7 separate regions of the Homo sapiens genome follow, and all the other regions are linked to region 1. Evidence: promoter capture Hi-C in 16 types of primary human blood cells and fetal thymus (Javierre and others, 2016). All regions are on one chromosome and are shown on one strand. Each heading gives the region's core, a stretch centred on a gene start or on the middle of the fragment in contact. The rest is flanking DNA. Distances are from core to core; before and after follow the strand shown. Region 1 holds the start of TMPO (thymopoietin). Region 2 has its middle 6.1 kb from the start of ELK3. Region 3 overlaps LTA4H (leukotriene A4 hydrolase). Region 4 overlaps ELK3 (ETS transcription factor ELK3). Region 5 has its middle 58 kb from the start of LINC02452. Region 6 holds the start of LOC124902990 (a long non-coding RNA gene). Region 7 overlaps AMDHD1 (amidohydrolase domain containing 1).

Region 1 (2,963 bases), core at 344-2,843:
TCCTCAAGCAAAATTTACCAATATGTGGGGAAAACGCAATCCAAACTGCAATTTTCAAATATTTGTTTGCAGGGCCGGGCCCGGTGGCTCACGCCTGTTATCCCAGCACTTTGTGAGGCCGAGGCGGGAGGACCACCTGAGGTCAGGAGTTCGAGACCAGCCTGACCAACTTGGAGAAACCCCGTCTCTACTAAAAAATACACAAATCAGCCGGGCGTGGCGGCGCATGCCTGTAATCCCAGCTACTCGGGAGGCTGAGGCAGGAGAATCGCTTGAACCCGGGAGGTGGAGGTTGCGGTGAGCCGAGATCTCGCCATTGCACTCCAGCCTGGGCAACAAGTGCGACACTCCATCTAAAAAAATAAATAAATAAAAACTAAAAAATTATAATAGGCGCCTAAAAATATAGTTTAAAATGCTCCTTTTAATTCGGCATGAACCTGTTCCGCCAAAAGATGGCCTGTTGCTGGGAAAAATTAAAACAAACTAGAAAACATAAACGGTTCAAAAAGCCCTCCACACGCAAAAGTATAAAAAGGCGGGAATTTCCTCATTTCAAATTTTGGTTAGAAATTAGAGTGTCATCAGTTGCCCTCCAGGGAGCGCTCTGAGACTCTGCTGCGAGTCATTTCAGTTAATAAAGCGGGAAAACGCTCGAACTTAACCTATAGCATTTTGGGGCCACCCCTCCAGAGCTTTCGAAAGGGCACGGAAGTCCCCGTCTAAACGCCCGCTGCAGGCGGCTGGTGGTCCAGGGAAGCGGCGTCGACTGCGTGCAAAACAACCGCCGCCAACGCAACTCCACACCTCCCAGACCCACACGTCAAAGAACGCGAACCCCGCGGCCCCAACTTCTGGCCTCTCCGCTCCGGCGCCTGCAGCCCCGCGGGGAAGGGGCGACGCGAGGGGGCGCAGGGACAGCCCCGCACCTGGGAGGCCCGAGGGGGCGCCCGGGAGGGAGGGGCTGCAAACGGCGGCGAGCGCGCGCGGCAACCGCCAAACGCCCGCCTTTGTAGCCCCGGCCCCGCGTCCTTACCCTGCCGACGGCTGCTCGGCTCCGGCCCGCGGCGGCGGCCCCAGAGCCGAGGACCGGGGTGGGCTCGCGCTCTTCGTCACTGGAGAAGTCCGGGGGCCCCTTGCTGTTGGTGCCGGCGGGGAGCGGCGGCCGGTTGCGAGCCGTGAGGTGCTGCAGGTAGAGCTGGACGTACACGTCTTTGCGCTGCTCCCCGGCCGGCAGCGTCACATTGTTGGCGACCAACTCACTCTTCAACTTGTCTTTTGTCAGGACCGAGGGGTCTTCCAGGAACTCCGGCATCTCGGGGATCTGCGAAGCCCCCTCCCCACAGCCTTTGCCGCCGCCGCTCACGCCGGCGCGCTTGCTCCTGGCCGGGGACCGCGCTGCCGCCTCCGAGCCTCACGGCTCCTGCCCGGGAAGAGCGCTGCGGAGCGGAACAAAAACTCGCGGACACAAAGCCAAGCCAGACCCGGACACAAAAGACCCCAGAGCCGAACTACGAACCAACTGCGGCCAAGCTGGAAGCTCGCACCAACCCCAGCCCACACACTACAGGCAGGAGGCGAGCAGCCTGCTTCGCCCACGCCCCAAGAACGCGCGCCGCCATTGGCGGGCGACGGGAGGAAGCGCGGCGGTGATTGGCGAGACGGCTCGCGCGGGTTCCATTAGCCGCCGCGCTGAGCGAGAGGAGGTAGAAACGCAGTTTAAAAGGCGCTGGGGCGGGAGCCGAGGCTCCCGGCCCGCTTCTGTTTTCGTTTTCTCCACCCTTCCCCTTAGACGCCGATAAGGGACAGGTCGTACTGCTTTTGTGCGCCGTTTCCTCTCCCTCCCCCAGCTTGAGAAGCAGCTTTCGTCTCTGGGGTCGATCGCCTACGAACGCGCCGAATTCCACGCCAGTGTGAGGACCCTTGGCTGGGCCTTTCTTCCTCCCGGGACACTGAAGCTCCAAGAGTAGCCGCAGCCTTGCCTTCCCCAAACGCTAGCCCTGAAGGGGAAGAAAAGAAGCGAGGCTTGTCTGCAGGCACTCATATTCCTTGATTTGATTTACTTTGGGAGGGGGAGGGCGGGGAGTTACCCCTCTCCTCGCGAACGCTTCTTTTGTTCCAGAAACCCAGGGGAAGCCAGACCTCTACAATCGGGCACTTAAATTACCCTTGAATTTGTGACAAAAGTGTACTATACCATTCACTTCTTAGTGTCATAGTTGGGGCATGTCTAAATTGTTTAATTTGAACAGTGCGTTCAGACGCAAGACAAATTCGCGCTTGCATTTTTGTTGAAACCGTCTCTGGCTTTGGATCCCACCACCCGCAAGAATCCTAAACCTAACGTTTGATAACAAAACGAAGGAGAACCCTTGGGAACCCCCTCAATGGTCAATTTAAAATAACAGATGGTGCATAATCCTAAAGGAAGACTAGTGACCTATAATTAGGCCTAGAACCCTAATCAAACCCGTATTACCGATCCAAATTAAAACCTGGTAGAATCTAATACATTGACTGCAATTAAAATGTTTGCCTGGAAATTAGTATCACTGATGACAAATATTTGTATTTCTGATGAATATGTATGTTTAAAGATGCTTTCTTTCTAGAAAGGAAAGGAGACCTTGGATGTAGGGTGTGTTAATCATTTCCCCAGAATCTGAGCTCCAAACTATGTTTTAGAAACTGGTTAAATTTTTTTTAAATGTTTGCCTGCTTTCTACATTGCTAGGTTAGAATACATTTAAAACAAACGCCTTCACTAAAAATGTTTCCTATGATTTAAGCGACTTACTTTTATTCAAATTGCGATATTATTTCTTTTAGTGATAATTATTTTCCTAGAGGTAACTAATTCCTTTATAAAAATCTCAGTATTCACATACATTTAAGCAATGGTATTAAGCTCAATAATGCAAATTAAAAATCAGGTTTTAATTAGCAAGTTGTTAGGTAGGTTT
Region 2 (2,913 bases), core at 41-2,540, 2.3 Mb after region 1:
AAACAGAGCGGGAGAAGAAAATTAGTTTTACAATAAACCAAACTAAAATTTACAGTAAACCAAGCGGAATAAATAATGTTCGAAGCTTATGAATTGCTGAATTTCTGATAGAAGCTCAAAAGGGTTTGCCATCACTACCTTCGAAGACTGCTTCAATACTGGGGGGCTAGGAGGTAGGGCTGGGAATGAACAGCCAAAGCCTGATGGTAAGACAGCCCACTCTGGTGGAATGTGTACATTTGGAATCAGGAATTTGGGAATCCAGTCCCATACCTGACTTGTTCTAACTATGGGACCTTGACTAAATCACTCACCTTCTCTGGGCTGGAACAAGTGTCAGTTTTTACTGATGTTTCCACTGAATGCCAATTTTACATTAAAATAACGTGTTATGGACTAAGATTCTTAAATGTTCATTTAAAAGCGTATTTAAAAGAGTTGTATAGACTTGTAGGCAGCCCCCTGTTGGAGTCTGCGGTCTCCCTTTTGTGTTGTTAGAGGTATTTCAGAGGGACATTTGAGAAATATTGACTTGGACCGTCTTTTTTGCCCTCACACAGGCCACTCATGGGGCAGAGCTTGGCAAACTGCAGTCAGTCCACAGAACCCACTGCCTGTTTCTGTATGACTTTTGAGTGAAGAAGTATTTGCCTTTTCTTTTTTATTTTTAATTGTGGTTAAAAAAAATCAAATTTACCGTCCTATTTTTAAGTGTATAATTAATTCTGTAGCGTTAAGTAGATTCATGTGGTTGTGAAGCTCACCTCCAGAATTTTTTCATCTTATGAAACTGAAACTCTATCCCCATTAAACACGAGCCCCCATCTTTCCCTTCCCCAGCCCTTGGCAACCATCATTCTACTTTTTGTTTCTATGAGTTTGACTAGATACTTTGCATAAATGGAATTGTACAATATTTATCTTTTTGTGACTGGCTTATTTCACTTAGCATAATGTCCTCAGTGATCATCCGTATTGATCATGCGACAGGATTTCCTTTCTTTTTATTTTATTATGATTATTATTATTATTATTGAGACAGGGTCTTGCTCTGTCACCCAGGCAGTACTGCAGTGGCATGATCACAGCTCACTGCAGCCTCGACCTCCCAGGCTCAAGTGATCGTCCCTCCTCCACCTCCCAAGTAAATGGGACTACAGGTGCCCACCACCACACCTGGCTAATTTTTTATTTTTTGTAGAGATGGCATCTTGCTATGTTGCCCAGGCTGGTCTTGAACTCTTAGACACAAGCAATCCTCCCACCTCATCCTCCCTAAGTGCTGGGATTACAGGCATGAGCCACTGCACCTGGCCTTCCTTCCTTTTTAGAACTAGATACTATCCCATTGTTTGTGCATACCACATTTTATTTATCCATTCATTTGTTTTGGACATTTGGGTTGCTTCTACCTCTTGGCCATTGTGAGTAATAAGAATCTACATTTTTAAATGTTTGAAAACAAGCCAAAAGAAGGATAATATTTTGTAACATGTGAAAATTATGTGAAATCCAAATTTAGTGTCCCTAAGTAAAGTTTTATTGGAACACAGCCACATTCATTTATTTACATATTGTCTAACACTGTTTTTGCACTATAACAGCATGCTTGAGTAGTTGTGACAGAGACCATATGGCCCATAAAGCTGAAGATATTTACTTTCTGGCTCTTTATAGAAAAAGTTTGTCAACTGCTGGTGTAGGCAAAAGAGATTCTGTGCTGTTTTTTGGTTTGGATTTTTAACTGCATTTTCTTTCTCATTCCAGACAAGGCCCTTGCTTGCCACATCACGTAAAAATCTTACGTGTCTTTAATGCACTTCACGTCCAGGAACCTCAGCTTCAAAGAAAACCAAACGCTCATGCTTCATTTAATTCCCCTTATTCGGTCTTCCAAAGAGGTGGAGAATAGCTGGTGCTCACTGTCCCAGACACTGAGATGGCATTTCAAGATTTTCTCTGCAATCTGGTCTCTGAACAGACTTGAGCCTTTGTCTGCTGGTTCCCAACCCTGGTTACACATCAGAACCATGTGCTCCAGGACCTCACCTCTTGGAGTCTGAGGTTGAGCCCAGGAAACTCTATGTCTCCATATTTCCATCCAGACACCCTCTCTCTTCATGAAACCCTTGTAAATGTCTTACTCATTCTTTAGACATGGCTTAAACCTCAGCTCCTCCAAGAAGTCTTCCAAGATTCACCAGATGAAATGTATGGCCCATTTCTCCTACATCCCCCACAGAACCGTGTTTGAACTTTACAGCTTAGACTTATTTCTATGACTCGCTCCACTATGCATTCCCGTCTCTATATCCCTAACACCTGCCAAGAAAGTGCTAAAAATTTTTGTTGAATCAATCAGTCCATAATAGAAGAAATGATGTAAAATACAGTTTTGTAAATGATGTTATACCATACTAATTGAGATATGTGAACAATCATGAAGAAGAAGAATTAATGACATTCGGGGGGAATTAAAACTGATTCCAAGCTTCAGAGTTTTAAATTTAAAAAATGATCGAAATTCAGTAACACCCTGTACCCTCACACCCACCCTGAATCCACATCGTACCTTTAGAAAGGAAGGGAGGGTAAATATGTAGTGGTAAAGTGTCACAACTCCTGAAACGGTGAGACATTGCCATAGTTTTCAGGATGAATACAAATGAGAATGTGTACCAACCAGCTGCCGGTCAAAATCACTTCGTACATGCTATAAATCTGACATGCTCAGAAAGGTACAAATGGTCTTTGGCCCTTTCCCTTTCAATGATGCCCAGAGTTCCTGTGCAAACAACTGTTTTGGATTTTAAACGTGTAGATCAAGAAAATCAAGTATTTTATCTTTTGTTTTGATCCTAGAAGGTGTTGGACAAGGCTTTGTAGGAAACTGCAGTCTTTTTTTTTTTTAAA
Region 3 (3,017 bases), core at 328-2,827, 2.5 Mb after region 1:
AGTCATAAAATGAAAGGAAAAATTAATAAATAATATGTACTGGTTATGAAAAATGCTAATAGTAAAGAAATGGAAAGTGAAAGATTTAATTTCCAAACCTTTTCCAGACACCATTGCCCAGAGGTAACCACCATTGAGTTTGGAATGTAGCTTTTCCATATTTTTCTTACACATTTACAAAAGTATGTATTATATCAATATATTAACTGTACCTTTAAAATTGCATGACTTAAACTACTTTTGTTTTCTGTTTTAAAACTAAGGGTAAAGAGCCATACAATTAGAGATAACCTGTCACAAGGATAATACATTTCAAACTGTCTTCTGAAAGAAAAAATACCTACTTTTCATAGTAATCAAATAATTTACAATTAAGGGAACTGACTTCATTAAACGTTTGCTCTATTTCCAGGCATTGTGCTAGATTCTTTACATGTTTCATCCCTCCCAATATTCCTGTGTGTTAGGTTCAAATTTCAATACAAGTCCATTTAAAAAAGGAATTAGCATATGAATCAGACCTGTTTACTTTCTATGGCCACTTGAAACATCTTTTTAATCTAAGAAACCCTCAGTTTAATAATCTAGAAGAGATGAAATGTTCTACGCAAGAGTGTACAAATTGCACAATCTGTATCTCATAAATATCTGATTTTCAGGCAGTATGTCTTAATAGAATGTCTATTAACCAAAGTTGGCAAGAAATGCAAGATTTATGAGTCATGAAAATGTTAATTTTGAATATATTATTCCATTTCTTATTGGCAGCAATGGTGGGAATATGGGAAACAGATTTCAGCTAAATTAATAAATGATTGAGGTGATAGGAATCATGTAGACATGATTTTGTTTGATGAATTTGCTTACGGTTGTTCTGTATGCATATTTGCCTGGGTTTGGCCTTATCCAATGAAATACATTTAAAAACCCCTTTGGTGTTGCCATGTCACCTAACTAGAAACCATTAAGGAACTATAGAGGCATGGTCTTGGAAATCTATTTTGGGAGAGAGAACCAGGTGGCTCTGCTAGTCCTACTTAATCCATCTAGAGGTCATTTGGGAGCCTATATCTTTGGAGAATTTTCTAGAACTGAAATGAAAAGACCTGGAGTTTGGGGGTTTTAAGAAAGCTTGTGGTGGAATGAAGTATGTTTAGGATTTGTAATAGCTTCAGAGAAGGGTGTTAATATCAGAATTCCTTTGAGTTTAGTAGACTGTCTCAATGAGGCTGGGTTTTCATTTCATTGTTCACCAGCAGTAGACAGACTTATTTGTAAACAGACCGGGTATAAGATTGTAGGTGCTCTTTTTTTTTTTTTTTTGGAGACAGGGTCTTGCTGTGTTGCCCAGGCTGTAGTGCAATGGTGCGAACTTGGGTCACTGCAGCCTAGAACTCCTGGGCTCAAGCGATCCTTTTACCTCAGCCTCCTGAGTAGCTGGGACTACAGGTGTGCACCACCATGCCCAGCTAATTTTTTTTGTGTAGAGGTAAGGTCTCACTATGTTGCCCAGGCTGGTCTCAAATTCTAGAGCTCAAGCAATCCTCTCATCTGAGCCTCCCAAAGTGCTGGGATTGCAGGAGTGAGCCACGGCACCTGGCCTGTGGTCATACTGGATGGAACCAATGTTAATAACGATTGGTGTGGCAGTACAGAAACACTTTGCATATGATATGAATGAATATGTCTAGATGGTATTGAAAGAGACTGTTCTTTCTCCCTTCTTTGCTTCTTTGTTTTACTTACAAGGTTTGCTGCAAGATTGAAGTGTCAGGATTACAGCAACATTTCTCAGGCTGTGTTCATTAGAATACTGACATCCCATTAGGTGTTAAACCAGAGAGAAATGGGTTTTGTGTTAACATAAATGTAAGAAATCAAACAGGTTTCTTTATTGTAGGTCTGTTCAGAGCCTTCAGGCGGCTAATATTCTAGTGGCTCTGCAAGACAGTGGTGCAGTATGCCATACTTCTCAGGTCTGTTTTGCTACAGAGCCCTTTTTTCTCAGGTTTCTAAAAGCTTCTCACTGGGCACTACTGTCACCCAGACCATAGAGTAGGAAACACTGCTTAAGAGTTTCTCCATGCTTCAACTGAAATGTGAGGGTTAACCATAGATTAAAATGGAAAATCTGATTTTTAAAAGTCCAAGAATCTATTTTTGGACTTTAAAAGATCCCAAAAGGCCAGGCGTGGTGGCTCACGCCTGTAATCCCTGCACTTTGGGAGGCCGAGGTGGGCAGATCACCTGAAGTTGGGAGTTCGAGACCAGCCTGATCAACATGGAGAAACCCCATCTCTACTCAAAATACAAAATTAGCTGGGCGTGGTGGTACATGCCTGTAATCCCAGCTACTCGGGAGGTTGAGGCAGGAGAATTGCTTGAACCCGGGAGGTGGAGGTTGCAGTGAGCCAAGATCATGCCATTGAACTCCAGCCTGGGCAACAAGAGTGAAACTCCGTCTCAAAAAAAAAAAAAAAATCCCAAGAAATGAGGACTGTTTTTATTTTAATGTCTAAGAACAATGCTGCAATTTTTAATGATTTCTTAATGACTTATGCGAAAGATAAATAGCTATTTCTTCTTGTTTCTCCCTTTTTCAGGCCATCCACTGCAGAGCAATCCTTCCTTGTCAGGACACTCCTTCTGTGAAATTAACCTATACTGCAGAGGTAAATATTACGAATTATTAACTCAATTAAATGATGCATATCAGTAAATATGGTATAAATGATAAGCAGAGATGATAATTGAATTCCTAGAGCTAGAATTATTTTTCTTAATGAAATTCTACCTGAAATATGTAAACAAAGAGGCTGTGGCACTCATTCTGAATCTCTACTTTAAAGGCAGTTTTAAACATTTTAACTGTGAAAAAAAGGAAATGGAAACCAATCTGACTTTTAAAAAGGAATTCAGGGCTAGGTGTGGTGGCTCACACCTGTAATCCCAGCACTTTGGGAGGCCGAGATGGGTGGATCACGAGGTCAGGAGATCGAGACCATCCTGGCTAACAT
Region 4 (2,954 bases), core at 297-2,796, 2.3 Mb after region 1:
TAAATGCTTGCAGAAAACTCAGATGCTAGGGCACTGATTCTCCGACTCCAGCTTAACAAACACTGGTTTAAATGCTGACCCTGAGGCCTCCAAGCTGTGTGACCTCAGCAAAGAGGGTCCCTGGGGCTCTCTCCTTCCCTGGGGTACATTCGGCTCCCATCTATGTGGTTTCTCTGGAGCAGGAAGGAGAGTCAAGTACATGAGAGCTGTTGGGTCAGATAGCGAAGAAAGAAAGATGTTCTAAATGACAAGCCAAGGGACAATGATGACAACACCGCTCATAGCCGCTGCAGATGGGGCCCTACAGGAGGGCATTCACGGGCTGGTCAGGGCAAAAGACACAGAGTAGAGAGGCCGAGAGTAAAACGCTTGACCTCTGGCACAGAGGGGAGGGACATTTTTGCAGACTCTGAGTGATTATTTTCTGCCCTTATTCTGTTTTCAGCTTTTTGCACTTAAAGAATGCAGTTATGAAAACAGTTTTGAGGCTAGGCGTGATAGCTCACGCCTGTAATCCTGGCACTTTGGGAGGCCGAGGTGGGTGGATCGCTTGAGCCCAGGAATTCGAGACCAGCCTGGGCAAGAGTAAGACCCCATCTCTACAAAAAATACAAAAATTAGCTGTGTCTGGTGGTCCGCGCCTGTCCACCCAGCTACTCAAGAGGCTGGGGTGAGAGGATCGCCTAAGCCTGGGAAGTAGAGGCTGCAGTGAGCTGTGATTGCACCACTGCACTCCAGCCTGGGTGACAGAGCGAGACCATCTCTCTTTAAAAAAAAAAAAAAAAAAAAAGGTTTTATGTCCCTCTTTAGTCTTTCCCATGTTTTTATTTAACTTTGATTCATTCTTTAATCCGACGGAGCCTCAAAAAGAAAGATGCTATTGACAGAAATATTGATCATTCTCATTACGCTGTGCCCGCCTCCGCCTACGTGAGAGCTGTCAGGTCACATGACACGATCCCAGCTTCAGGTGTCCCAGCTGCCTCCTGCCTCTGTCACCGAAAAGCTACTGGCCTCTTCTTGGAAGCTGACCTCCTTCCTGTCGGCCACAAGGTGGCGCCCGACGTCTTAATGTGAGCAAGGGCCGCACAGACCCCTTATGCAAAGTATGAGGTTTTTGCCTCCATTCTTAGAAGTCGAAATGCCCACTTATTTGTTCTTCTTTCTACTGATGGCAACCTAGCACTTCCCTTTGCATGTTCCTTGTTTCATTTTTACTGAGGTGGGAGTTGAGGGGGCAGAATTAGCTTTGATTTTCTTAAGCTTCTATGTGGTGGGAAATAAGAAACGAGGCAACTTAAAAAAAAAAAAAAGGCAATGAGAGCCCAAGAAAAGGAGAAAAACTTCTGGGTAAGGAATAAACAAAATAGGTGCTCATGAGGTACCCATGTCTTTTTTCGTTTGTTAAATTTTGCATGGTTAGAGAAATGAAGATGGATTTGAACACTTCTTACTGAAAATTCTGCTGAGTTCAACTCCTCTGCCAGTATCTGCTATGCATTTCCATGTCATGATACTATCATTGTCTAAGACAAAGGGTAGTAGCCATTTCATTATAGAAAATGAACCCTGTACCTCAGTCAAAGAACTGGAAGACAACATTTTATATTATTAGGGATCTGCAATAACTCAGCACAGAGTAAGTGTAAGGTATTAAGTAAATAAGGATAATATTTGAAAAAAAAACTTATACAAGTTCTGAAGTTTTTTATTATTTCTGTGAGTTGGAAGACTATTAAATTTATTTTCAAAGGACATTTAAATTATTTTGATCATTATCACTGTGTATAAAAAAGGCATGAGGCCAACTTCATGTCTCCCAAGCTTTTCATTTATTAACAAGTATTTGCATTCTGTGAATATCTACAAATTGTTCATTTTAAAAAAGGTAAACAAAAGTAGGTATTGCTCACCTATTTACTTACTCTTTACAGTCTGCAATGGTTTTTGCTGTTTTTTTTTTTGTTTGTTTGTTTTGTTTTGTTTTTTGAGACAGAGTCTTGCTCTGTCGCCCAGGCTGGAGCACAGTGGTGTGATCTCGGTTCACTGCAAGCTCCGCCTCCCAGGTTCAAGTGATTCTCGTGCCTCAGCCTCCCGAGTAGCTGGGACTACAGGCGCACACCACTGCCTCCGGCTCATTTTTGTATTTTTAGTAGAGACAGGGTTTCAGCATGTTCGCCAGGGTGGTCTCAAACTCCTGACCTCAGGTGATCCACCCACCTCGGCCTCCCAAAGTGCTGGGATTATAAGCGTGAGCCACCGTGTCTGGCCCAGTCTGCAATGTTTTTTAAATAACTCTTCCATCTTGGGAAAGAGAAAGGTTGCTGGGATTACATGCCTGTACATGTTATATCTAGCACAATGTAATATCTAGCACAATGCAAGGATTACTGGGTTTTTAATGAACGGATTACATGTCTGTAATCCCAGCACTTTGGGAGACCGAGGAGGGAGGACAGTTTGTGCCTAGGAGTTCAAGACCAGCCTGGGCAACACGAGACCCCCATCCCCACAAAAAACACAAAAGTTAGCTGGATGTGGTGACACATACCTGTAGTCCCAGCTACTTGGGGAGCTGAGGCAGGAGGATCACTTAAGCCCAGGAGTTTGAGGCTGCAGTGAGCTGTGATCACATCACTGCACCCCAGCCTGGGCAACAGAGCATGAACCTGTCTCAAAAACAAAACAAAAAAAAAGAGAGATTTTTCAGAGGAAATCACTGACAACCACTGAAATAACAACATATGCAATTTACTGTGTGTAGGAACACCCCTCTTTCCTTCTGGAACTATGCTGTCTCTGGCTAAATTAGAAGTAACTCAATTGGTTTGTCAGTGACTTTTATATGGGTGAGTAGTAAATGATGGCTTCGTTAACACTGGCTGAGAAAATGTCTTACAACCATTCGACTTTTTCCCACAGAATTCACCGCACCCCACCCTAATAACCACCAT
Region 5 (3,250 bases), core at 14-2,513, 2.4 Mb after region 1:
GATACCTAACAGTTACAGCCCCTACCATGGGCAGACACTGTCCTAAACTGGCTGGGTGTGGTGGCTCACACCTATAATCCCAGCACCCTGGGAGGCCGAGGCAGGCAGATTACCTGAGGTCAGGAGTTCGGGACCAGCCTGGCCAACATGGTAAAACCCCGTCTCTACTAAAAATACGAAAATTAGCTAGGTGTGGTGGCATGGCCTGTAATCCCAGCAACTCAGGAGGCTGAGGCAGGAGAATTGCTTGAACCTGGGAGGTGGAGGTTGCAGTGAGCCAAGATCGCACCACTGCAGCCTGGGTGACAGAGCTAGACTCCATCTTAAAAAAAAAAAAAAAAAAAAAAAAAAAAAAAATTTACACCATTAACTCCTTTAATTCTCGTATCACTTCTAGCGAATATCTTATATTATTATCATCTCCGTTGCATATACAGGGAAACTGAGGTATACAGAATAATTCTCACAGTCATATAGCTAATAATATGTGGGCTACTTTTTGAACTAGCTGTCACTGAAAACCAAATAAAATATATTAAATTTATAAACACAGTTAAAAACCCTTGAAGTTGTTTAATTAACTAAGTCTGAGTGGAACCAACCCTTAAGCAAATCCTCCAATAAAACAGACTGTGCCCCAGATTCCAGGTTTGCGTGCTTACCTTTTACATTAAGAAGCTGACTACAAATTAACTAAAAAGAAAAAACCCTGACTCCTTAGTCATTTTCGTAAAACTAATATTATACTTATAAATATAGCATAAAAGGTTCAAATTATTTTATATATTCCAAAACTTACTTTTTATTTTTATTTTTGTGTGTGTATTTCTGCTGTTTAATATTTTTTATAGAGACAGGGTCTTGCTATGTTGCTCAGGCTGGTCTCCAACTCCTGGCCTCAGGCAATCCTCCCAGCTTGGCCTCCCAAAGTGTTGGGTTTATAGGCATGAGCCACCCCACTTGGCCTACAGATTCTTTTGTAATTCTCTTACAAAAATTTCTTGACCGGGCACAGTGGCTCATGCCTGTAATCCCAGCACTTTGGGAGGCCGAGGCGGGTGGATCACAAGGTCAGGAGATCGAGACCATCCTGGCTAACACAGTGAAACCCCGTCTCTACTAAAAACACACACACAAAAAATTAGCCAGGCATGGTGGCAGGCGCCTGTAGTCCCAGCTACTTGGGAGGCTGAGGCGGGAGAATGGCATGAACCCAGGAGGTGGAGCTTGCAGTGAGCCAAGATCATGCCACTGCATTCCAGCCTGGGTGACAGAGTGAGACTCCGTCTCAAAAAACAAAAAAACAAAAAAAGAACCCTCAGTATATCAAGTTGTTCAATATGCCAAATTCATTTAAACATTTAAGTGCTTAAAATATCAAACATATGGATTATTTTCAAAATTTATGTATATTTTTAAAAGACTTAACCCTACAGATTTGACATACTCCATCACCTTTATATTTAATTCTAAATCTTCCCTGGGTTGAAGACATTTAGCTATTACGGAAATTCCCTGTCCTCCCTGGGAAGGAGTGTTGAGGGGAGTGAGCAATGGAGTTGGTGCTGCTGAATGTCTGATAAGAGCTGAAAATTAACCACTGCATTTGGCCAAGTGAAGGTCATAGTGACCTTGACAAGAGCTGGTGTTGATGGTTTGATGAAATGAAGGTGTAAATAAAAAGGATACATGAGAGAAGAACAGGAGAGGATAAGGAGGCAAGTCTTTTTGCCATTAGAGGAGCAGGAAAGTGGGACAATAGCTGAAGGGAGATGTGGGGTCAAGTAAGTTTTTTGTTTGTTTGTTTTGAGACAGAGTCTTGCTCTGTCACCCAGACTGGAGTGCAGTGGTGCGAACTCAGCTCACTACAACCTCCACCTTCCAGGTTCCAGCAATTCTCCTGCCTCAGCCTCCCAAGTAGCTGGGATTACAGGCACCTGCCACCACACCAGGCTAATTTTTTGTATTTCTAGTAGAGATGGGGTTTCACTATGTTAGCCAGGCTGGTTTCGAACTCCTGATCTTGAGTGATCCACCAGCCTTCCTCCCAAAGTGCTGGGATTACAGGCGTGAGCCACTGCGCCTGGCCCCAAGGAAGACTTTTTTTAACGGAATTTATTGTAAATAAGTTGATAGGGTGGGAAAGGATGAATTCAGGAGAAAAGAGGCAAGTGACATTCCTGGGTAGGTAGAAGAGTTGGAATCTACTCTCCAAGTGAAGGAACTGACCTTGGAAAGGCACAGGAACCGCTGGACCATGGTCACTGGAGGGAAAGTAGCATAGAAGGACACAGGAACTGCTAGATGTGCTGGAAGCAGGTGCAAGTTTTTTCTGATTGCTCCTGTTTTCTCCAGAAAATAGGAAGTGAGGTTCTTAGTGCAGCACATTGGGGAAGGATGTATTGATGGTTTGAGGAAAGGGAAAGCATGAGATCGTCCTTTGGGAAAGTGGGAGAGTAATAGGATCACGGAAATGTAATGGGATTATCCATTAGCCTGAAGGGCCGTTGGTATATGAAGACTATCTGAAGCCTTAGGACTGGATGAGAACAGTACGGAGTGAGTTTGGACAGAGGAGAGGACAGGGTTGAGGATGGAGCCTGGCTGGCAGAGCTCACTGTAGAGCCAAAACGATTAGATCTGTGTGCAACATTATTTAATCCAGCAAACCACAGGGATTAGAGGGAATTCCCACTTCTCCAAACTTAGTTAATAATTGATCACTCACTTACCAGTCGGATCAAGTTCAATGGTTTACTTTCTGGACCAGGAAACGCTTTTGTGATACATTTTCCCCCACACAAATGGATGTCTGGTGCCTGCTGCCTTCCAACAATATTACTTGTATTTCCTGAAAGTCAGAACGACAAGGGACTTCAAACGCTATTATCAGTTAGGGCTGCAAAGCCAAACACAGCTGTAGGCTTTCAGAACCAATGAACACATCAGGTTTCATTAGAAACTGGAGAAGCCATGACTTCTGGTGATAAGTATCACTGGGGCAATATACTGAAATATCAATATCTGCACAAGGGAGCTAATTAAAAATTGGCAAATCATTTGCTCATAAAGGTTCTGGTTTTTCCTTCTGATACCAAATGCTTTCCAGTTGCTTCCAGCAGACCTCTTCCTCAGGTCCATCATCCCACCCCATTCCAATCCTATCTGTGCAGATACTCAGTTCACTTCACCATCTTTTCTTGGTCAGAGGTCTCAGTCTAGACCAAGGTTTCTCAGTGTCAGCACTACT
Region 6 (3,056 bases), core at 122-2,621, 2.5 Mb after region 1:
TGCTTTTTGTTCCTAACTTTGCTTATAACTGTCAACCTCATAAGAAGTATTTTCCCTCTCAAATACCCATCCAAACTTTACACATTCATTCATTAGAGGTTTCCAAAGTAGTATGGACATAGGCGTATGGACATAGGCACATGGCAATTATTTGGATGCAGGCAGAAACTATTAAATCTTTAAGATTATTTATGTAACTGGCTTCACAAACATAATTTGTAACATACAATTATAAACAACTATATTTTATTCTTCTACTGTCCCTTTAATTTTTCTCAGTGAACTGGTATTTCCTCTGCCTCTGGATAAACCTTGTGCAGGCTCGTGATTTTTCTGGATCCTCAGATAATTACAAGTTCTATGATCATGTTTCATATATTGCAGCCTTAATTTAGAAGTTAGAATGTAAGCATAAGTGAGTGCCTGGGTCAGCTAAGGCTGCCAAAACAAAATATTATAGACTGGGTGGCTTAAACAACAGATATTCATTTCTTACAATTCTGGAGGCTGACAAGTTCAAGTTCAGACTGTGAGCAGATTCAGTGTTTGCCATGGCCCCTTTTCCTGGCTTGCAGATGGCCACCTTCTTGCTGTATCTTCACATGGCAGAGAGAGGAAGCTCTAGTCTCTCTTCTTCTTATAAGGGCACTGATTCCATCACAAGGGATCTACCCTCATGACCTCATCCAAACCTAATTACCTCCCAAAGACCTCACCTCGTAATACCCTCACATTGGGGGTTAGGGCTTCAATATATGAATTTGGGGGAGACTTAAACGTTTAGTTCATAATATTCTGCCCTTTGTCCCTCTCAAAATTCACATCCTCCTTGCATTTAAAATACATTCATTCCATCTTAACAGTCTCAAAAGTCAACTCATTCCAGCATCAACTCTAAAGTTTAAAGTCTCATCTAAATATCATGTAAATCCAATATGAGTGAGACTCAAAATTCACCCTAAGGCAAAATTCCTTTCCAACTGTGAATCTGTGAAACCAGACAAGTTATGTGCTTCCGAAATACAATGATGGAACAGGCTCAGGATAGATATTCCTATTCCAAAAGGGAGAAATTGAAAGGTAGAAAGGGGTGACAAGTACCAAGAAATCCAAAATCTAGAAGTCAAACTTCATTAGGCTTTAAAACTGAAATACAATCCTCTTTGGCTCAAAGAATGCTCTGCCCTGTAGGCCCACTGGGGTGGTGGTCCTCCCTTCCAGAACCACTGGAAGGTATCACCCCCATCTTTCAGTGGGGTGTCCCTGCTTCTTCAGCTCAGTGTAGCACTGCCCACATGGCTGTCTGTGAGGGCCACACCCACATGAGTGCTGAGTAGCAGTCCCACTCTTTGAAACCAAGATGGAGGTAGCCTTGTTCCCAGGGGCCTTTCCACTCTGGGCCTGTGGTGGGAGTAGCAGCCCTGATGATGTCTGAATTGCCTTTGGGATCCTTCCTCTCTTTTCCTGAAGGGGATTGCATATTCACAGCCTTACTTCATTCCATCTTGTTTTCTCTTTTCCTTTTAGTCCCAACTGGCAGGGGACTAAAGCATTATTTCTCCTGGAATAATCCCAACTCTATTTCTGGCTTCTGTTGAGATGGCTGATTAGGTCCATGGTTGATACTCACACTACTCTCCTTATCAAATGGGTGACCAGCCACACTCTTAATAATCTCTTCTTTTCTTTTCTTTTTTTATTTTTTAAAATAGAGATGGGGTCTCACCATGTTGCCCAGGCTGGTCTTGAACTCCTGAGCTCAAGTAATCTGCCTGCTTTGGCATCCCAAAGTGCTGGGATTATAGGCAGGAGCCACCATGCTTGGCCTAACTCTTCTGAACATGGTTTCTCATTTTTTTTGCAGTAAGGACAGGCTAAGAATTTTCCAAATCTTTAAGTGCTGGTTATTTTTTGATTAACAATTTCTTCTTCAATTCATTTCTCTCTTCTTAAATTTTACTATCAGTGGTCAAGAGGAACCAAGCTGCTCTTTCAGCACTCTGCTTAGAAATGGCCTCAGCCAACTATCCAATTTCATTGTTTGAAAGTTCTACCGTCCACAAAACACTAGAACATAAACAATTCAGTAAGTTATTTGCCACTTTATAAAAAGGATTTTCTCCATTGTCCAATAACATGTTCCTCATTTCCATCTGAGGCCTCACAGAATAGCCTTTGCCACCTATATTTCTGCTAGCATTCTGTTCACGATTGTTTACGCATCCTCAAAGAAGGAAGACAGAAGCTCTTTTTGAGTCCTCACCAGAATCATCTTTAGCAATTTTTTCACAGCAACCTTGGCTTTTTGTAGCATGTATCTCAAAACTCTTTTAGCCTTCACCCATCACCCTGCATCATTACTGCTTCCACATTTTTAGAATTTATTTTAATTTAAAAAATGTATATAATGTAATTCAGAAGATCCAAAGATATCCCTTATGCACCATATGGATGCCAATTTCACTACGCAAATTTCACCATGCAAATTCTTCCTCCCTCTGAAATACTTTGGTCTTTATTAGTAGTAGTATTATTTTAATTTGAGATTCAGGAGGTACATGTACAGGTTTGTTACATGAATATATTGCCTAATGCTGAGGTTTGGGCTTCTGCTGAACTGTCACCCAAATGGTGAACATGAACATAGTACCCAATAGGTAGTTTTTCAACTCTCTTTCCTCCCTCCTTCCCTTTCCCCTTTTGGAGTCCCCTGTGTCTATTGTTTCTATCTTTATGCCTGTGTGTACCCTGTGTTTATCTCCCTCCCACTTATAAGTGAAAACATGCAGTATTTAATTTTGTTTCTGTGTTAATTCACTCAAGATAATGGCCTCTAGCTGCATCCACGTTGCTGCAAAGGACAGCTTCTTTATGGCTGTATAGTATTCCATTGTGTATATGTACCACATTTTCTTTTCCAATCCATCATTGATGGGCACCTAGGTTGATTCCACGTCTTTGCTATTTTTATACATTTGTTATAGCAGCACCCATCCTGGTACCAATTTCTGTCTCAGCTTGAGCTGCCATAGCAAAATAACAGTGAGCAACAAGAA
Region 7 (2,867 bases), core at 305-2,804, 2.6 Mb after region 1:
CTGTAATCCCAATACTTTGGGAGGCCTAGGTGGGCAGATCACGAGGTCAGGAGTTCAAGAACAGCCTGACCAATATGGTGAAACCCCATCTCTACTAAAAATACAAAAATTAGCGGGGGCATGGTGGCACACGCCTGTAGCCCCAGCTACTCTGGAGGCTGAGACAGGAGAATCACTTGAACCCGGGAGGCGGAGGTTGCAGGGAGCTGAGATCGCACCACTGCACTCCAGCCTGGGTGACAGAGCGAGACTCTATCTCAAAAAACAAACAAACAAACAAAACAAAACAAAACTGGCACAGGAGTATTGCAATATTTTAACAAGTCAATCAACCCGCAATGTGTACTTGCTAAGTATCAGCCCTCCCTCCATCCCTCAGCTTGTTTGAGAAAACAAAGCTTAGGCAATTCAGGAGTTGCAGGGAACCCCATTGCAATTATTCAGATCTCCACTAAAGCGGCCCCAGGAAGTTTCCTTGTCTCAATATTTGGCCATCCGAGTTTGGAGCTTGATCTTTGTCACTCAAAGAGGCTCTTTCTAGGGTCCCACTGGGCTCCAGTTACTCTGGGCAGCAAGGAGTGTGGTGCAGAGAAAGGATGCAGGCCTGGGGTCTCCTGGCCGGAGTTTTCATCTGGGTTCTGCCATCCTCCAGCTGGTGACGCTAGTCAACACTCTTCCCTTCTCTAGACCCAGCTTTCTCCATCTACATAATGAGAGGATTGGACTGTAAATCTCTTTCTCCGTCTATACAATGAGAGGATTGGACTGCTTTTGGCTCTGAAATTCTGTGATTTAATAAAACAATCTTAAAAACAGCTCTAGTTTGTTGAAGCAGGTACATGATAGCTGAAGAAAAGAATTTTTTTTTTCTTTTCCTGAAATAAGCCAGTTTAGCTGCTAGGAGGCACATCTTTTTTTTTCTTTTTTAAAAAACACATGTGAAAATCTCTCCAACCAGGGATTTAGGAGTTGGTTACAGCTAATATAGGACTAACACAGCTTACATTTTGTGATTCTTAATAAGTCTCAGTTTATAACAGAAAAATTAAGGTATTTTATTTTTGTGATTAGTAACATATTTTTCCAAGCTTTACTCCAATGAATGGCAATTTTCAAACTATTCCTTGGAGCCCTTTCAAAAGCTACTAGAGATAGCGATTTGGAATGGGAATGTGGGGAAGGAAAGAGAGGGAGACATTAGTGGGCAGGAATAGCCCTGTGTATAATACAATGATTTGGGGCAGTTATAAATAAGTTTTGTTGTCATTTGTTTCCCATACCCAAGCAAGTAAAAATATCCATTAAAAAATATGTTGACATATGTTGCAAAGCTTGATAGCCTACTAACTCTTCAGCAAAAGACTTCATATTTGTGCTTTATTTTGATTTGCCATGATTTGTTGCAGTTACCTTCATTGCAAATTCGTGAACTCTTTCACCAGCCCATACTGGATGTGTGTGTGCATCCACCAAACCTATAATCAATAAATCAAGTTATCTTACAATTAAGAAATAGAGAGCACTTAGACAGCAGGCAAACAGCAGCACTATACCCTGCTGCTCTGGGGAAAGTGTGATGGTGGCCATCCATTTTGGAGGAGCATGAAAGGAAGAATTTGTCTGTCTGGTTCCCTTGATAGAGAGAAAAGAAGACTGCCCTGTTGTATGGTTGGTCTAGAAAGCTCTAATGAAGGAGGTGATGCAACATGATGAAAATATCCCTTACAGAAATACAGCTCCTTTTGCTCAGTAAGTCCATGCTCACCAAATAAGCTTTTATTTTATTTTATTTTATTTTATTTTATTTTATTTATTTTTGAGAAAGGTTCTCACTCTGTCGCCCAGGCTGGAGTGCAGTGGCACACTCACAGCTCCCTACAGCCTTGACCTCCCAGGCTCAAGCAATCCTCCCACCTCAGCCTCCCTAGTAGCTGGGACTATAGTCATGCACCACCACACAAGCTAAAATTTGCCATGTTGCCCAGGTTGGTCTTGAACTCCTGGGCTTAAACGATCTGCCTGCCTCAGCCTCCAATGATCTGCCTGACTCAGCCTCCCAAAGTGCTGGGATTACAAGCATCAGCCACTACTCCTGGCCCAAATAAGCTTTGAAATTAGGTTGTCAAGCCCCCTAGTTGGCAAAACCATGAACCTTATCACAAGGAATAATCTGGATATGAAAACAATACTACAATCCCCTCCCCCTGCAACTCTGAGAAGGGAAAATGTGAAATCAGAAAGATTAATCTATTTTCAAGAAAGAAATGTATTTTAATTAAGGAGAAACTGTAAAGCAATCACTTGAAACTTTTGTTTATCCAGGTACAATTCAGTAAAGTGTGTCTTTCCAAAATGTTTTAGATACCTTATGGATTAAATGACTCATTATTGGCTCTGATTGGACTAAAATCAAAAGCGCCTACTCAGATTGCTTTCTGCTATATTCCTCTTTTTCATAACATTTCACCCTGACTTTGTCTCCTGACTCTCAAGAATCATAAGGAAGGCCGGGCGTGGTGGCTCATGCCTATAATACCAGCACTTTGGGAGACCGAGATCAGCAGATCGCTTGAGATCAGGAGTTTGAGACCAGCCTGACCAACATGGTGAAACCCTGTTGCTACTAAAAATACAAAAATTAGCCAGGCATGATGGTGCATGCCTGTAATCCAGCTACTTAGGAGACTGAGGCAAAAGAATTGCTTGAACCTGGGAGGTGGAGGTTGCAGTGAGCCAAGATCACACCACTGCCCTCCAGCCTTGGTGACACAGTGAGACTGTCTCAAAATAAACAAACAAATGAAAACCCATCAGTTAGAAGCTCTGTCAGATGTGTACAATAAATATTTAAAAGTATAAAAATTTTA

Evidence for each region. The method cuts DNA at HindIII sites, captures the fragments that hold promoters and counts their contacts. A CHiCAGO score of 5 or more calls a contact.
Region 2: a contact is called between a fragment that was not itself captured here and the fragment with the promoter of TMPO in region 1, in 4 of 17 cell types (total CD4 T cells, naive CD8 T cells, activated CD4 T cells and 1 more). The highest score is 8.4, in total CD4 T cells.
Region 3: a contact is called between a fragment that was not itself captured here and the fragment with the promoter of TMPO in region 1, in 2 of 17 cell types (naive CD8 T cells and total CD4 T cells). The highest score is 7.6, in naive CD8 T cells.
Region 4: a contact is called between a fragment that was not itself captured here and the fragment with the promoter of TMPO in region 1, in 6 of 17 cell types (fetal thymus, naive CD8 T cells, activated CD4 T cells and 3 more). The highest score is 11.4, in fetal thymus.
Region 5: a fragment that was not itself captured here is called in contact with the fragment with the promoter of TMPO in region 1 in 2 of 17 cell types (non-activated CD4 T cells and total CD4 T cells); the score reaches 10.3 in non-activated CD4 T cells.
Region 6: a fragment that was not itself captured here is called in contact with the fragment with the promoter of TMPO in region 1 in 6 of 17 cell types (activated CD4 T cells, total CD4 T cells, naive CD8 T cells and 3 more); the score reaches 11.5 in activated CD4 T cells.
Region 7: a contact is called between a fragment that was not itself captured here and the fragment with the promoter of TMPO in region 1, in 2 of 17 cell types (M0 macrophages and monocytes). The highest score is 7.0, in M0 macrophages.

What each region holds. Positions count from the first base shown.
Region 1 is chr12:98,514,220-98,517,182 of GRCh38, reverse strand. TMPO (thymopoietin) reads right to left here and starts at 1,593. Exons shown (of 9, transcript NM_001032283.3): 1 at 1,037-1,593. The coding sequence starts at 1,315. TMPO-AS1 (TMPO antisense RNA 1) reads left to right here and starts at 957. Exons shown (of 2, transcript NR_027157.1): 1 at 957-1,192; 2 at 1,286-2,963. RefSeq lists a silencer at 834-1,103 and enhancers at 1,444-1,633, 1,894-1,973. The HindIII fragment of the contact is 4,246 bases long and covers 1-2,963 here.
Region 2 is chr12:96,186,851-96,189,763 of GRCh38, reverse strand. No RefSeq gene overlaps it. Among named protein-coding and RNA genes, the nearest start is that of ELK3, 6.1 kb to the left of the region's middle. The HindIII fragment of the contact is 2,406 bases long and covers 88-2,493 here.
Region 3 is chr12:96,024,134-96,027,150 of GRCh38, reverse strand. It overlaps LTA4H (leukotriene A4 hydrolase), which reads left to right. Exons shown (of 19, transcript NM_000895.3): 4 at 2,604-2,672. Among named protein-coding and RNA genes, the nearest start is that of LTA4H, 9.9 kb to the left of the region's middle. The HindIII fragment of the contact is 888 bases long and covers 1,134-2,021 here.
Region 4 is chr12:96,213,466-96,216,419 of GRCh38, reverse strand. All of the region lies in intron 1 of ELK3 (ETS transcription factor ELK3), which reads right to left. Among named protein-coding and RNA genes, the nearest start is that of ELK3, 21 kb to the right of the region's middle. The HindIII fragment of the contact is 561 bases long and covers 1,266-1,826 here.
Region 5 is chr12:96,112,465-96,115,714 of GRCh38, reverse strand. No RefSeq gene overlaps it. Among named protein-coding and RNA genes, the nearest start is that of LINC02452, 58 kb to the left of the region's middle. The HindIII fragment of the contact is 6,765 bases long and covers 1-3,250 here.
Region 6 is chr12:96,050,187-96,053,242 of GRCh38, reverse strand. LOC124902990 (a long non-coding RNA gene) reads right to left here and starts at 595. Exons shown (of 2, transcript XR_007063413.1): 1 at 497-595. The HindIII fragment of the contact is 8,479 bases long and covers 1-3,056 here.
Region 7 is chr12:95,953,519-95,956,385 of GRCh38, reverse strand. AMDHD1 (amidohydrolase domain containing 1) reads right to left here. Exons shown (of 9, transcript NM_152435.3): 3 at 1,411-1,475. Among named protein-coding and RNA genes, the nearest start is that of AMDHD1, 12 kb to the right of the region's middle. RefSeq lists an enhancer at 1-36. The HindIII fragment of the contact is 442 bases long and covers 1,334-1,775 here.